Linked DNA regions of Homo sapiens: region 2 is linked to region 1. Evidence: promoter capture Hi-C in 16 types of primary human blood cells and fetal thymus (Javierre and others, 2016). All regions are on one chromosome and are shown on one strand. Each heading gives the region's core, a stretch centred on a gene start or on the middle of the fragment in contact. The rest is flanking DNA. Distances are from core to core; before and after follow the strand shown. Region 1 holds the start of ZC3H15 (zinc finger CCCH-type containing 15). Region 2 overlaps ITGAV (integrin subunit alpha V).

The links. The method cuts DNA at HindIII sites, captures the fragments that hold promoters and counts their contacts. A CHiCAGO score of 5 or more calls a contact.
Region 2: a fragment that was not itself captured here is called in contact with the fragment with the promoter of ZC3H15 in region 1 in 1 of 17 cell types (M2 macrophages); the score reaches 5.1 in M2 macrophages.

Annotation. Positions count from the first base shown.
Region 1 is chr2:186,480,080-186,487,677 of GRCh38, reverse strand. It overlaps ZC3H15 (zinc finger CCCH-type containing 15), which reads right to left and starts at 1,418. Exons shown (of 10, transcript NM_018471.3): 1 at 1,221-1,418. The coding sequence starts at 1,295. LOC105373785 (a long non-coding RNA gene) reads left to right here and starts at 1,678. Exons shown (of 2, transcript XR_001739147.3): 1 at 1,678-1,878. RefSeq lists an enhancer at 1,309-1,788. The HindIII fragment of the contact is 12,604 bases long and covers 1-5,610 here.
Region 2 is chr2:186,677,433-186,684,681 of GRCh38, reverse strand. ITGAV (integrin subunit alpha V) reads right to left here. Exons shown (of 30, transcript NM_002210.5): 30 at 3,781-7,249. Among named protein-coding and RNA genes, the nearest start is that of FAM171B, 13 kb to the left of the region's middle. The HindIII fragment of the contact is 8,502 bases long and covers 1-7,249 here.

The DNA of each region.
Region 1 (7,598 bases), core at 169-2,668:
TGCCACGAATCCAGATTGTTCAAATAAGGTAATAGAAAACACAGATGTGAAGGTAATATTTTGTTTTTAAGTGTCTGGCTATAGTACTTCATGACAGTTTTAAACTGTACAAATTGGCAATAAGAATACCAGTTCTCCTCCAAAGTTGGAACCTGGCCAAGTATAGCAAAATTCTTAAGCATTTTCTTAAATCCAATGAGCAGACTTTACACCTTATGCGGTAAAATGGTCATGGCTTTTTCTAATTATATCCAAAGTACAAGAGGTCCTATTTAATTATGAGGAGGATTAATAGCAGAAATCGAGGGAAGAAATACCTCGTTGGGGTCTGTATGGTATGTTTACGTAATGTCAAATATGGTTCATCTTTTAAGGAAACTCAATTCAGTTGTTGGAAAACAAGTGCACAACATGTAAGAACGTCAATAGCGTTCCTTGGCCATTAAAGGGCTACAGGCTCAATGTGTTAAACGAATATATATACACACACATATATACACATATACACACACATAGATGTATACATATATACACGCGCACACACACACATATATCTCAAACTGGGTTACGGGACTTCACACAATTAGTGACACTGAAACCTAATCTCTTTTAAGGCGTTATCCTATTTAATCCACTTCAGAATGTAAGTACCAAGCTCTGCGTTCAAGACCCTGGGTTGTGACGGAAAGTCCTTCCATTCTTTATGGGACTTTAAACATTTCAGAGGTGGATCGAAAAAGCCACCAAGTCGTAATTTGTTGGTTCAAAAGAACTAACAGTACCATCCCTGGGTGACGGGTAAAGAAATAACGAACACAAAGACTCGTCATGAGTCGGTCTTCCAGAAAGACGCTGGCCCGAGACCGTTCAGCGTATTTCTTCACACATAACCTTGGAAAATCTCCTCAATTCTGAGAGGACTAGCGAAGGATAAAACCCTGTGCCAGTCCCGAGGGGTCATTTCGCACCCGGGTGCATGGGTGGGTGAACACGGGCGTGTGGGCGGAGAGGCAAAGCCCAGGTGCGGGGGCGCCAGCAGCGTCACTATAGTAATGAGAGAGCTAGCGTCATCAGGGGCTGGAGAAGGGGCAGTGGGCCACACAGGCCTAAGGGAGGAACACGTGGCCCGAGGAAGCGAGCCGGCTCCCAGGGAAGCCCGGAGCGGGGAAGTGGCTTTCCGGAGGGCTCGCGGCGTGAGTGGGGGAGGGGTGGGTACTCACTTCGATAATCTTCTCCTTCTTTTTTTGCTCCGCCTTTTTGCTGCCCCCGGCCTGAGCCTGTTTCTTGGGGGGCATTGCGGAGACAGATGGCACCGGCCAGACTTACGCGCAGCTGAATACCGTCAGGGGTTCTGGCCCTGCGGCAGGACGAGGAGGAAGACCGGGGCCTCACTCGCCGCACCGCACGGAAAGCGAGTCGCTCATTGGCCCCGCAAACGCGGCCTTTGCGACAGGTCGATGTCGCAGAGCATAGTGGGTAGCGAGGAGCGGCTCCCGGAAGCGGAGCTGCGCGTGCGCGCCCACTGCGTCCCACTAGGAGGGGGCAGGGACGGGACGTGGGAAAATGACTACGCGTCACTCGTGATGTCGCGCATCCGATAGGCCCTTTTCAGATGGCAAAAGGCCTGAGGGTGAATCTGGGCGAGCTGGTTGAGTCCATGCGTTTGTGCTTCCTCTCAGTCCACTTTCGCTTACGATGGGGCGACTCTTGTCCATCGTCACCTCACCGGGAAACTTTTCCTGCCGGGCCAGTTAATGGTCCCCTGTACCATCCCCATCCTGAGTGACTACTAAGCAGCCGCAGCGACTCGGGGTTGCTCCGTGACCACGTTACTCAGTTAACCTTCTTGTTCCCTGGAGAGGCGGAGCTGAATGGCCCGTGAGTGTCGCGTGCTTCAGATTCCTGCGAAGGATTATTTAAAAAATGGAAAAAGTTAACTTTCATTTGCAGGGTCCCTTTCATTTGAAGAGCATCTGAGATGGCGTCCCAGATAAGGAGGCACTTGAACTCCTTAGAAGTACTGTATTAAGTTATTTTGAGACTTTAGGAGAGTGCCTAGGTGATTCCTAAAAATTCCTTTATAACGTGAAAGTAACCAAACTTAGTTAGAACTTAGTTTAAGTGCTTGGTAGCTCCAGAAATTCCTTGGCACATTACACACACTATTTCATTTAGTTATCACAACGACACTTAGGTGGGAGTTGTTACTGTTTTCGTTTTATAGATGAAGCAGAGAAAGGAAGAAAGATGCCCAAAGTTATATTAAGGACAGAGCCAGCAATTGTAATCTTGGCAGTCCGGCTTCAGCCTATATGCCTATTACCTAACATTACAAACTTAGATCCTGTTTGAAAAGGTACTTGAATGATGAATGGGACCCATTGATATTTGTACAAACGAAAATACTATTTTTTAAAAATGTACAATGCTTAGCTGTTATTTTTTAAAATGATTATTGTTTAAACTATTTCTGTTAAGAAGCATTGTGGAACCAAGAATCATCTTTATAGATAAAAGTTTTTTTATCTTTTTCATTAATTTGAATAGGGAGAAAACGATAAGCCCCCCTACTTAGTCAAATTGATTATTTGCTTAGTAATTTTCTACGTAAGATAATGTCAAGGAACCCCAAGTATGTTTTGTGTGTGTATGTGTGTGTGTAGAAGAAATGTGATAGCTACTAAAAAGAATTGTGTCGAGAATGGCAGGTGTATGTTGACACACTTTTTTTCATTTGGGCTCATATTGGCAGGTTAATGGGCTCCCCCCCTTTTACATATTTTCATCTTTATTTTTTGTAATTGTCATAGTTCTTGTCAGAGGATGGAGGGATGCAGCCAGCCCCCTCTTTACTCAGTATTATTATCCATTTGATTATTTGGGGATCGTCTCCTTTGAGACTTTGTTTGCATATGGAATGTAGTTGTCTTAACTTCCTACTTTTAGTGCCCCAAAGATGCCCTTTGGGCCTTTGATTTTGAGTAATTTTACTGATTATTATTATGAGGCAAATGAATTATAAGTAACAAATATGGGGAAGTTACAAAGAATCTAGAGTCTCATAATGTTATGATAATGGCTCCAGTTTCATGGTTCATAACTTCTTCTGTCTCCTGACCTTTGCTTTCGGTTTTTTCCTCTGAAGTGTAGCCCAGGTAGAGAACAAAGATCCTTTCTTGCCTCAAGTGGAAAATACACATTTCTGAATATAGTACATGCTCTTATAGCACTCTCCCTCGTACACTATTTCTTCATACATTTTAGAAATAAGGAAGTCCAACTCATTGAATTCACTACTTTTTGAAATAAGGTACATGGTTTTTCCTGGTCTCAAATAGCAAATGGTAGCAGGGCTGGGACTTTTATGTCTTCTACTGCTATTTTTATTGACCTTACAATTCAAACGAAACTTTCACAAAACAGTGCTTAGAAGGCATAGTCCAAGGGTTACAATTCATATACCCAAGAAAGCAGGGCTATAAACTTGAGCGTCAGGATGAGTGAAATACATTAGGAAGTTGTGGGAACAGTGTTAAACCTGAGGTAAATGCCCACCGTAAAAGAACTAAAAGAAAAACTGTCAAACCTGACTGCTTCGATTTGGTAGACAGGCTGTGAATTTACTGCCTTGGATATAGCCATTTGGATAACTTTACATTTATTGGAATGTATCAGATGTAATAGATTAAGGCAGTAGATTTTGTACTGAATAGAAATTATTGTTTGCTATCCAGCATTCTAATGTCCTTCTGTATAGGAAGGAAGCCCTATGTCTCAGGCTTTTAATCTCAAGAAAACAAGACAAAGACTCAAAGTGTAGGAATTTTTCAGGGCATTAGAGTGCATGTATGGTATTACCAGTCCAGTGGCGGCAGGCCAGTGTGGCAAGATCCATACAAGTCCTTACTTCATTCTTTGCTATTATTTCTTGCTTCTTTTATTTCCCAAGCCTGATTTTCCAGGCTTCCTATAGATTCTGTGAACAATATTTCCATAAACATATTTGAAGACATAGCTAGAAGGTGGCCATCTGCAAGCCAAGAGAGAAGCCTTGGAAGAAACCAAACATGCTGACACCTTGATCTCAGCCTACTAGCACCCAAAACTATGAGAAAATAAATTTCTGTTTTTTAAGCCACCCAGTCTGTGGTACTTTGTTATTGCAGCCCTAGTAAACTAAGACAGACTCTGATTGATAATAGACCAAACTGTGCTATGGGGTGGTGGGCAGAGACAAGACTACTAGTTTATCTAAGTAAATTTTTGTCATAAAGATAGGACTCATTTGGCCATATAAATTGCTGATCTGTTTTATGGGTTAAGGCAGTACATATTAGGAAGTATTTTGATTTAAATAGTGAATGCTTCAAAATTCTGACATATAGTCAGTCTCCTTTAAGACTTTTTTCCCTCTGAATTAAGATATTACAAAAGATTTGCTAGTGTTTCAGTAAAGCATATAAAATGTCTTTTACCTTGTCAGTTTGAATTTCAATACTGTAAACTTTCACTCCAGCCTACACTGATGTAAAATTTTCTTAAAGTAGGTGACTTAAGTGGGTGAATTCTCTGTTTCTATTTGAAATATTTCTTGGTACCATTATGATAATAGTTATTATGGCATTTGTCAAGAAACCAAGATGTACGATTTCCAAATATTTTTTGCCTCGTTGACACTTAAATCATTTCCAATGATTTAAATCAACCATGTCATTTCCCTAGTAATAGTTTTTTAATGGCTTCTTATGTCTTTCTAAAGGGAGTGTAAGGGATTCCACATCTTCCTCAGCCTATAACATCTGCTTTTTATCTTCTGTTATTTCAGTTCTTACTCCTCATTTTAGGCCAGCTTTTCCTATTCCCCACCTTCATATTCCCTCTCTACTCTTATGTGCCTTCGAACTTTTCATAGTCTTATGTGTATACCTCCCCCCTCCCAAAAAAAAACCTATCTACCTTCCATCTAGGTATCATAACTAGAAACTTTGGTGAGTCATCTTTGATTCTTTTTTCAACCTCCAAATCCAGTCAAGTCAATTCATAGTGATTCTATATCTTAAGGAACCTCTTTCAAATTATTTCCTTCCTACTTTACTATCCTATTTCAGGGCCACATTTTTACTTGGACTATTGCAACTGTTTCTCTTGATCTAATTTCTTCACAATGCATTACTCCAAAAGTAAATTTTCAAATGTATGAATTTGATAGTGTCACCCTATTTCATAACTTCTTTGAAGACCTCCCATATACATATATACAGGTTTTAATTTGCATTGATGATTATTCCATAGCTACAATAGTTAATTTTCTTGTAATAAGCGTAAACATTTTTCATACATTTATATAGTCTTAGAAGACAAAATCAAAACCCTGTAAGGAATTTTTTTTTCTTCTCGGTAAGTTTGTAAACTGAGACATGATATTTTATTGTTTTCCCATAACGCATTGCATATTTTCTTAAATATAGGTGCTTAATAAATGTATATTTTAGTGGTTCTCAAATTATGCTCATATGAAAGAGTTCAGTAGGTTGGACTAAGATGATCTACTAAATTGAATGATGATGTATTTCTAATTAACAGAAAAATATTTTTTTTCAATTTTAAGCTTTTTTCCCTCATAGTCATTCTTAAAAAATTAGTAGATTGCTAGCATTTTTCACCTAGCAGATTAAAAAAAAAAAGAAACAGTAATGGATCAAATATTTCATGTGACTGGAAAACCTATATATTCAAAATAATGTGGGGACATTTATGTAAAATATGGTCTTATGTTACAGTCTTTTTGGTGAAATTAAATTTATTAATATATTTTAAATTTTTCCATATAACACCACAAGTTCCAGGTATTTGCTACCTGAAAACATTTCAGAACCACTGTTTTAATGGATTGAATACCATCTCACCTTATAGCTGGATTTAGTGTCATTTATCCTTGAATCCTAAAACCTTTGAAGTGGGAAAGTTGTTCCTAAAAGAACTATCAAATTAGATTCTTCTTATGAAAGCTAATTTTCCATTTCTCTTTTATGACACACTGTATAAAAGGTCATGTTTTATAGTCAAAATATGTGGGTTAAATTTCTTCCCTTCCACTTATATAGGTGACTTTAGGCAAATTGTTGGACACTGGTAAGCTTTACTCTTCTTATATATAAAAGAGGAATAATACTGTTCCTAGCTCATAGGGCTATTGGAAGGACGAAATGATATAATGCATGTCAGTCACTTATTAGAGTACTTGGCACATGTAAACACATAATTAGTGGATACTACTATATAATTCAGGTCATAGTGTAAAGAAGTAAGGAATTCAGCATTGATACATTAATTTCTAAATGAGCTTACTCCAGTAAATATGGAGAATATAAAATCAGGAGATTGGGTGACTGAATGTGGGAGCTGAGGGGAAGAAGTCAGAAAGTAGAAGAGGATCCAGGTGGCAAGCATGGGCAAGTGATCAATGTGGGTGCCAGGGAGGTTACATAGGCAATGATTGGAATGTGTGGCCAGGGCAAGAAATAACATATCCAGTTTTGGCTCTGCTGAATTTATGGTCCTAGTGCGTCATTTATGTGGCAAAATCCAATGGTATATATTTGACTTGTAAACTCAGAAGAGAGTTTAGAACATGGTGGCCAATGGGAATGGATTACTTTGAAAAAGATTGTAGAGAGCCAAAAAAGAATAAAAATGTGAGGAACAATGTTTAAAAGGTAAATACAGAAAAAGAAGTTTAGGGAGGAAAGTGAAAAGAGGCAACTGTGGCAGGGACCCTAGGGAGAAGAACTTTTTGGGTAGTAGAGTATCAACAGGGCCTGGTAATTTTGCCTTGAGTTGGCTTAAATACGGCTACTTACTCATTCCACATTAGGATGAATCATACTGGACATCCAATTTAAGACATGGCTATCTGAAACAAGTGTATATTTCCAACTCTATTGACCTATATTTCTTTTCTTACATATATGGATACTGCCATCTGCTGATAACTGGCATTTTTGAGGGGTCTTTTTTGTAATTATGACATTGTATTTAAGGTATCGTTTCCCTTGTTCCCTTTTTGGATATATTCTTCCCACAGGTCTCCACATGGCTGACTCATTTTCATCCTACAGATAGCAGCTCAGGTGGCAATTCTTCTAAACAGTTATCCCTGACCACTACATCTAAACAACTTCTACCCTCTGCTCCTAGTTAATATCTATGTCATCATGTGTTTCACTCCTTTAATTTTAGATTTATCTTAATTTGTAATTACTTTGTGTTTTTATGTCTTCATTTCTTACTTGGGTATCTCTTGTCCCAGAATATAAGCTTCATGGGAGCAGGAACCTTGGCTCCCATCAGGTGCCTAATGCAACCTGTCTCTTAGAAAGAGCTCAATAAATGTGCTTTTAAAAATGAGCGATGGTGGCCGGGTGCAGTGGCTCACGCCTGTAATCTCAGCACTTTGGGGGGCCAAATGTGAATCACTTGAGCCCAGGAGTTCGAGACTAGTTTGGCAACATGGCAATACCCCGTATCTACTAAAAACACAAAAATTAGCTGGGCGTGGTGGCACATGCCTGTAATCCCAGCTACTTGGAAGGCTGAGG
Region 2 (7,249 bases), core at 2,387-4,886, 190 kb before region 1:
TTTAAATGCCTATGATTCTGTTCTTGGTCACTAAAATTATTTATAATCTTTTTTTTAATCAAGCATGTCAAAGTATTATGATATCTATGATCAAGTTGCTTTGTTTACAAGAAAGTTTTTAATTAAAAAAAATTTTTTTTGTAGAGATGGGGGTCTCACTGTCTTGCCCAGACTGGTCTAGAACTCCTGGCCTCAAGCAAACCTCCTACCTTGGCCTCCCAAAATGTCAAGATTACAGACATGAGCCACTGTGCCCAGCTGGTTGCCTTTAGATTTAGCTTATGTACAAGCAACAGACTGAACAAATGCAAAGGGTATTTGGGGTATAACCTAGCCAAAGAGTGGTATGGTAAACTCAGCAGGTAATTCTGATCCATTCATGATTTCAGCAGGCTCTTCATCAGGAGTTACAAACTCAAATTCCTACAATGGCTAGGCAAATGAGTAATGAGAACTTAGTCTCGTGAAATAAACGGAAGTCTCTCTAGGATTTATGGTAACCCCAAAATTGCTTGACCATCTTAGTGCAGACCTTACTCAGTTCCAATGCTGTATCCAAGCAAGAACACAGGCTCCTATCCTCAAGAATACCGTGGCTCTTAGAATTCAGAATCTCTGTCTTTGGGGTATTTATAATACATTAATGGTGCCAACTAGTTCATTTATTTTTAAAATACCTTGAGGCCAAACAAAACAACATCAGGCCACTGTTTGCAACTTTGTGATTTTGCTCCTGATCCAAGATATTCCCTGGGATTGTTCTATCTCATCTCTTGATGCTAATCCTGACCCTCCTTCTCCCAATATGTTCTAGATCTGCTCTCCTCAAGTTTTCCTTCTTTCCTTATCTACATCATATCCTTTAAAATGTGTTTTGCCCCTTAATGTACAAAACTGCTCAAGAATTTTCCATCTGTAAAACAAACTTTCCTACTTTTGCTTTCACCTCAAACTACAGCCCGTTCTCTTCCTTTCTAAGCCTAGCCAAGCCTAATGCCTATCCACTGCTTGACCCACTGTAATCCGGGTTTAGTGCTTGACCACACCACTGAAATGGCTTTCTGTAAGGTCACGAATAACCCACTCTTCTCTTACTTTGTTTCTCTATGGTTACTTTGTTTCTCTATGGTCTTGCGTCACAGTCTCTCTTGACTTTTTTTTTTTTACTTCTATAGCCAAGCCTCCTGGATCCTGGCCATCCCATCCTCCTTTTAAATGTAAAAATTTACTGCACTGCCTTCTTCCTGTCTCCTTACTTTACACATTTCTCTTGAACAATCTCATCCATTAGCTTCTATTAATACCCATATTATTTCTCTGGCTTTGATCTTTCTCCTGAATACCAAGGCTTATGTTTACAAGAACCTGCTGGAAATTTCCATCTGGATATGCCATAAGTACCTCAAATGTAATGTACCTTTTCCTCTCCTAAACTCTCTGCTCTTCCCCAAATCTCTGCCCCTTTCCTATTTCCTGCCTCAGTTCTCAGTCCAGCCAATCACCCAACCCAGAAACCTATGGATTCTACATCATACATTATCCTAAATATGTCTCCTTCTTTCCATTCCCATTGTTACTGGCCTGGTTTATTTAAGCCCTTATCACCTCTTCTTGGCAGTAATATGAAAATATTGCCAGCCATCATTCTGTCTTCTAATATGTTAATATACTAATATACATAAGTACTTTGCATATATTTAATATTTCCAAAGATAACACTACATGATGAGGTAGCTATTACGATGTCCATCATATAGGATATAATAAAAAGGTATGGAGGGGCTAGGTGGTTTCTGCAAGGAAAGACACTACTGTAGAACACATTAAGAGAGAACATCCTGGGGACATAACAAAGCTCTACCACACGCTAGTGTGAGAGCTTTGATAATCATTCTCTGAGCTGATTTCAAATCAATAAAATGGGTATCAATATAGTATCTATAATATTAGCTATTATATAAATTATTCATAATAAATAGACATATCACCAAAGCAAAATACCAAAGCTACTTCTTAGAAATAAGTAGTATAATTTCTTTTTCTAAAACGCATACAGTTCTGTCACTTTTTGCCAACATGGCTGCCGGTGGTTGAATTTTATCGTATTTCAGGCCTGTTCAAGAATGTTTCTTCATATGGTTTGGCTGTGTCCCCACCCAAAATCTCATCTCAAATTGTAATTCCCATAATCCCTACAATCCCTACATGTCAAAGAAGAGACCAGATGGAGGTAACTTAATCATGGGGGCAGTTTCCCCCATGCTGTTCTATTGATAGTGAGTTCTCACGAGATCTGACGGTTTATAAGTGTTTGGTAGTTCCGCCTGCATTCATTTTTCATCATGCTGCCTTGTGAAGAAGGTGCCTTGTTTCCCCTTTGCCTTTAGCCATGATTATGTTTCCTGAGGCCTCCCCAGCCATGCTGAATTGTGAGTCAATTAAAACTCTTTCCTTTATAAATTACCCAGTCTCAGGCAGTTCTTTTATAGCAGTGTGAAACAGACTAATACAACTCTCTATAATGGCTTGCCTCATTAATGATTTATCACCATTATAAGGTTCGAAGGATGTTTAAAATTAATCTTGGAAAAGAGAATTCCACGGCTCAAAATTTTCTTCTTGGACCAGTCAAGTGAATGATGGAAGAGACTTACTGGATAAGCACTTAACATATGCGTTTGATAACCCCTTTTCTTGCATTTTCACAAAGTCCTCACAAATTTACCCTCTGTGGACCAAGATACTTCCACAGAGGGTAAATTTGTAAGTGACTGGGAAGAGCTTTGAACCCAAGTGGTTTCAACGGTTTTCAAAATGATTTCAGGAAGGGCATGGTGGCTCACACCTGTAATCCCAGCACTCTGGGGGGACAAGGCAGGCGATCACTTGAGCTCAGGAGTTTGAGACCAGCTTGGGCAACATGGCAAGACCCCATCTCAAAAAAATAAAATCCTTTCATATGTGTTATCTTATTTGATCCTAAAGAGCAACTAGTAAGTCAGGCAGGACAGAAAGGCTCTGCCCATTTTCTAATTCTCACACTCAAAATACTTCCATGTGTAGGTGCTGTACATTTTACATCTTAATTGGAGCCAAAATATCAAGTATGGTGGTCAGGATAGGGGTAGTTATGACTTGCTGGTCCAGGGGAAATATCACATCTAACTAAGCATATAGTGTTAGAAGTAAGGACAGTGGTTACTTTTGCAGGGCAGGGTGAGATATGATTAGAAAGAGACAGAAGGGGGCTTGTGGATGCTGGCAATACTCTATCTTATTTCCATAGGAATTTACGGTGGTGTATTATGCTACTTCAGTATAATTTCCCAAGCATCTCAACACTTAATTTTCTTCTTGGTACTTTTCATTTATAAAAATAGGTATTTTTATACTAGAATTGCATATGTATATTGCAACTGCATATATGCAATGACATATATACACTATAATTAAAAATTATAAAAGATGTAAATGTGCATTTTAAAAGGAATCTGATAATGTAAAAATAATAAAGGTTAGCATAATGAATTTAGAAATGTTTGTTTAGAAATAAAATAATTCTTATATTTCAGGCAAATACATATTTGCCTTTCTAAGGATGAATTTTAATGTGGTACATTTTGCTCTTTTTGTGTTTCTTTTCATCAAATAACTGACATTCAAGATTTGAAGTTTTACAGAAAGTTACCTCTGAGGTCATCCTTTTAGTGCATTATTGCTAGCTCATGTAATCAAAAAACAAAAACACGTCACAGAAAGGATAAACCCCATACACAAAAGTGGTACCATATGCTTATGTTTATTGTACAGTCACAAGTTACATGTTGTAAATCAAGCAGAACACTGTACCAGTTTTCACTAACTCAAATCAAGTTAGCAAATTACAAATTTTAGAACAGATTCATTTTCTGTCTCACCCAATGTGGGTGACCACAAAGATATTTACTTTCTATGTTATTAGGTAGCAAATTAATTTGATATACTACACAGCTTCCAAGTTACCTTAGGATATTTCAAAGTGTTTCAAAACTGGTAAAGAATAATTCATTTCCAGCCTGAAATACAATGCAGAATGGACCATTTAGGGGTAAATAACCTCACTTAATCACTCTTTCCTGCTAACAAAAATAATACAAATATTTGTTTATATTAGGCTTACTAAATTAATGACAACTTTGAAATTATCTAGATTTGGTTACATTGTTATATTGCACTTGAGAACAATGACAAAAAACATCAAAGATTCAGTACCTCTCCCAAGAAGTTCATTATATATCAGAAATTAAAATGAAATATAAGCATATATTGCATGCTGCATATTTCTATCGTTCAAACCAGCCAACCAACAAACTAAAAGGAATACTCTCCAAAACACTGAGTATTAAGTAATTTCATCTGCCTTTTTTGATCCTACAATCATTTTTCAAATTTTAGGTGTTTTTCTTTAAATTATTCATCAAACTACTACATATACAAGCTATCCAAGAATGCAAACAAGGTGACATTGAGATGGGTAGTGGCTGCACATAGGTATTCCAAGAACGACTCATTCTTCTCCACCAAGCTCATCATTACATTTTGCAACTTAGGAAGATCTGCCAACTTACAAATTCTGTTTGCCTTACAAAAATCGCTGATCTATTATATACAATACTTTTATCACACAAATCTCTCCCTTAGGGTCATGATTCACTATCAAAAATCTTTCACAGCCCTCTTAAGCCAGTAAAGTCTCTTTTATTAATACTTGAGTTTTCTTTATGGAAATGTAAGTGTTAATGAGAATTAACTATGAATAAGTAGTTTCATAACACAGGTAGAATGATGGCAATAATATTTTGACTAATTGTTTTACCTTTCAGATTCAGAATTACAGTGATAATCGTTAAGAGAAAAGAGAAACAGAAAAAATGACTCACATGTATTTTTCTCAAAATATCAATTCTGAAATAAATACCTATATAAAAATCAATATCAGTATCAATATTTCTTACCAATGTCAAATGTTTTTAATATCTTCTAGTTCATTCATGTTTTCTTAAAACTGAATCAGATCATAAAAATTTTACATTTCAAAATGGATTTTTATTCTCAATAAATCACAAATATGGTAGTATTTCAAATGTTTTAGAGATTTAAAGTTTTCATAGGGCAATTTTTTGATATTTAATCATGATAAAAAAAAATCCCACCATTTTCTTCAGAAAGTAGGCTTTCAAATTACTCTTCTCCATATTTTTGTAGATATATAAATGTTCATTTTTTGAAGGAAAATCTATGCTATTATACAAAACTATATTTCATAAAGGTAATTTAAGATATCATGTTAATTTCTAAATTACAGCATCTTTCAATCTCCAATACAAGATTACTTTCAAGATAGATGCCATAAAAGGAATAGATGGCACAAAAGCAAATTCTAACACTTTTGCCAAAGAGTGACTTTCTATCCAACATATTTTCAGAAATGACTGTTACTAGGTGGTAAAACTGTTAGGGTAAAATTTGTTATAGACTAACTTACTGATTGGTGGCAGGCAACACTTGGCCCTAGGATAAAAATATTTTTCTTAAAAAATTTTAAATTTATTGGTAATAAAAATACTTACTGCATATGATTAAGCTCTTTCAAGCTACTAATAAAAATCTATACTCCAAGACCCATTACTTTTGAAATTCACTAAAGCTAAAATAGAAGGTTTTGTCTAGAGTCCTACCTTGTATACCTCAACTAAATGTGCTCCTATTTTACGAATATATTCTCAAGATTAGCTCAGTCAACTTGTGCATGAAATTATGAGATATGGCAAGATAAATTTCAATCATTTTTAAAACACAGCAAAATAGTCAATTATTTAAGGGAAATATTTATCATTACCTAATGAGGACAGCAGTTAAAGAGCTATTAAACTCTCCATTTCTAATGTACAACATGATGTAATTGCACAAAAATAGGTATAACTGATCATCATCCCCAGGCCTTGAGGAACTGTGAATAAATCATATATTCCTCTAGAAGGTTCACCACTCTACAGAGCCATATAAAACTACAACTTGCCACCTATGTGGCTTTTATTAATAATCCTAGAAAAGTAATTTATACTAACGAACTTCAGAAAGGTTTAAAAGGTTTTCAGTAACTTGAACTGCTTATAAAAATACCTTTTAGAAGTTATTCTGACAGCCGAGACTGATTTTACACATTACCTTGCTTAAACAGAGGTAATATTCCTGTAACATCATGCTATTGCTAGAAGTAAATCAGTGAGTTGCCTTAAGAGTTTTTATTCCAAGCATTACTCATAAAGTTGGGGTAAGGGGTCCAGGTTCCTGTCAACTGTAAAGATTTCTCACTGATCTTGACCCATTCTCAGTAACAGTTTTGGAAATATAAGGAAAAGTACATGAATGGAGGAAAATAAATTAATACTAACTAAAAACTCTGCTCTACTCTAAGAATGTAATACTTACTATATGCATAAGCAACTATCTCAAAGAACTACACAGTATTTTAATAAAAATGCTTTTTTTATACTGTAAATAGCCAGACTAAAACAATGGAATAAATATGCTTTGGAAATAATTTCCAACTCCATATGGCTTTAAGCATTATGATATTCAGGTGAAATTAAACAATTACACAAAAGAGCCATTTGTGATTATGGAACTAATTTTTAGTATAGGTTGGCTTGAAGGATTTGACCTAAAATTTATACAAGTTAAAAATGTAATAAAATATTGTGGATTTAATATAAACAGAAGTGTAATAGGATCTACCAGATTTTCATACTAAAACAAAATATTGTACCTTTGTTATTAAAAGCAAGAATTTGGATGGTATCATGTATGTGTTTATAAAATTCTACCATATGAGTGATTAAAAAAATCCAAGTTCATGCAGTTATAAAGTCTTTAGTATTCTGAAAAGTAAACTGTAGTGTAATATGTATTAACATTAAGTACCTATACAAAAGACATGATTGCTAAGGTCCAAATTTGGACTGCTTTAAAACAACAACAACAACAACAACAACAACAACAAATAAAGTTCCGTACATTAAATCAGAAACAGTAACTGAAGGAGGTACTATTTTATATAAAGTAGTAAATCAGGCACTACCTGTCTTATATACATTGAATAAAAACTATCCCTTGAAATTTTATTATTTAAATACCTAAAAACACAAGTCACCCTATGTTATTAAATGTATGTCTGAACTTATTTATAAGGAGAAGGTTGACAAATATA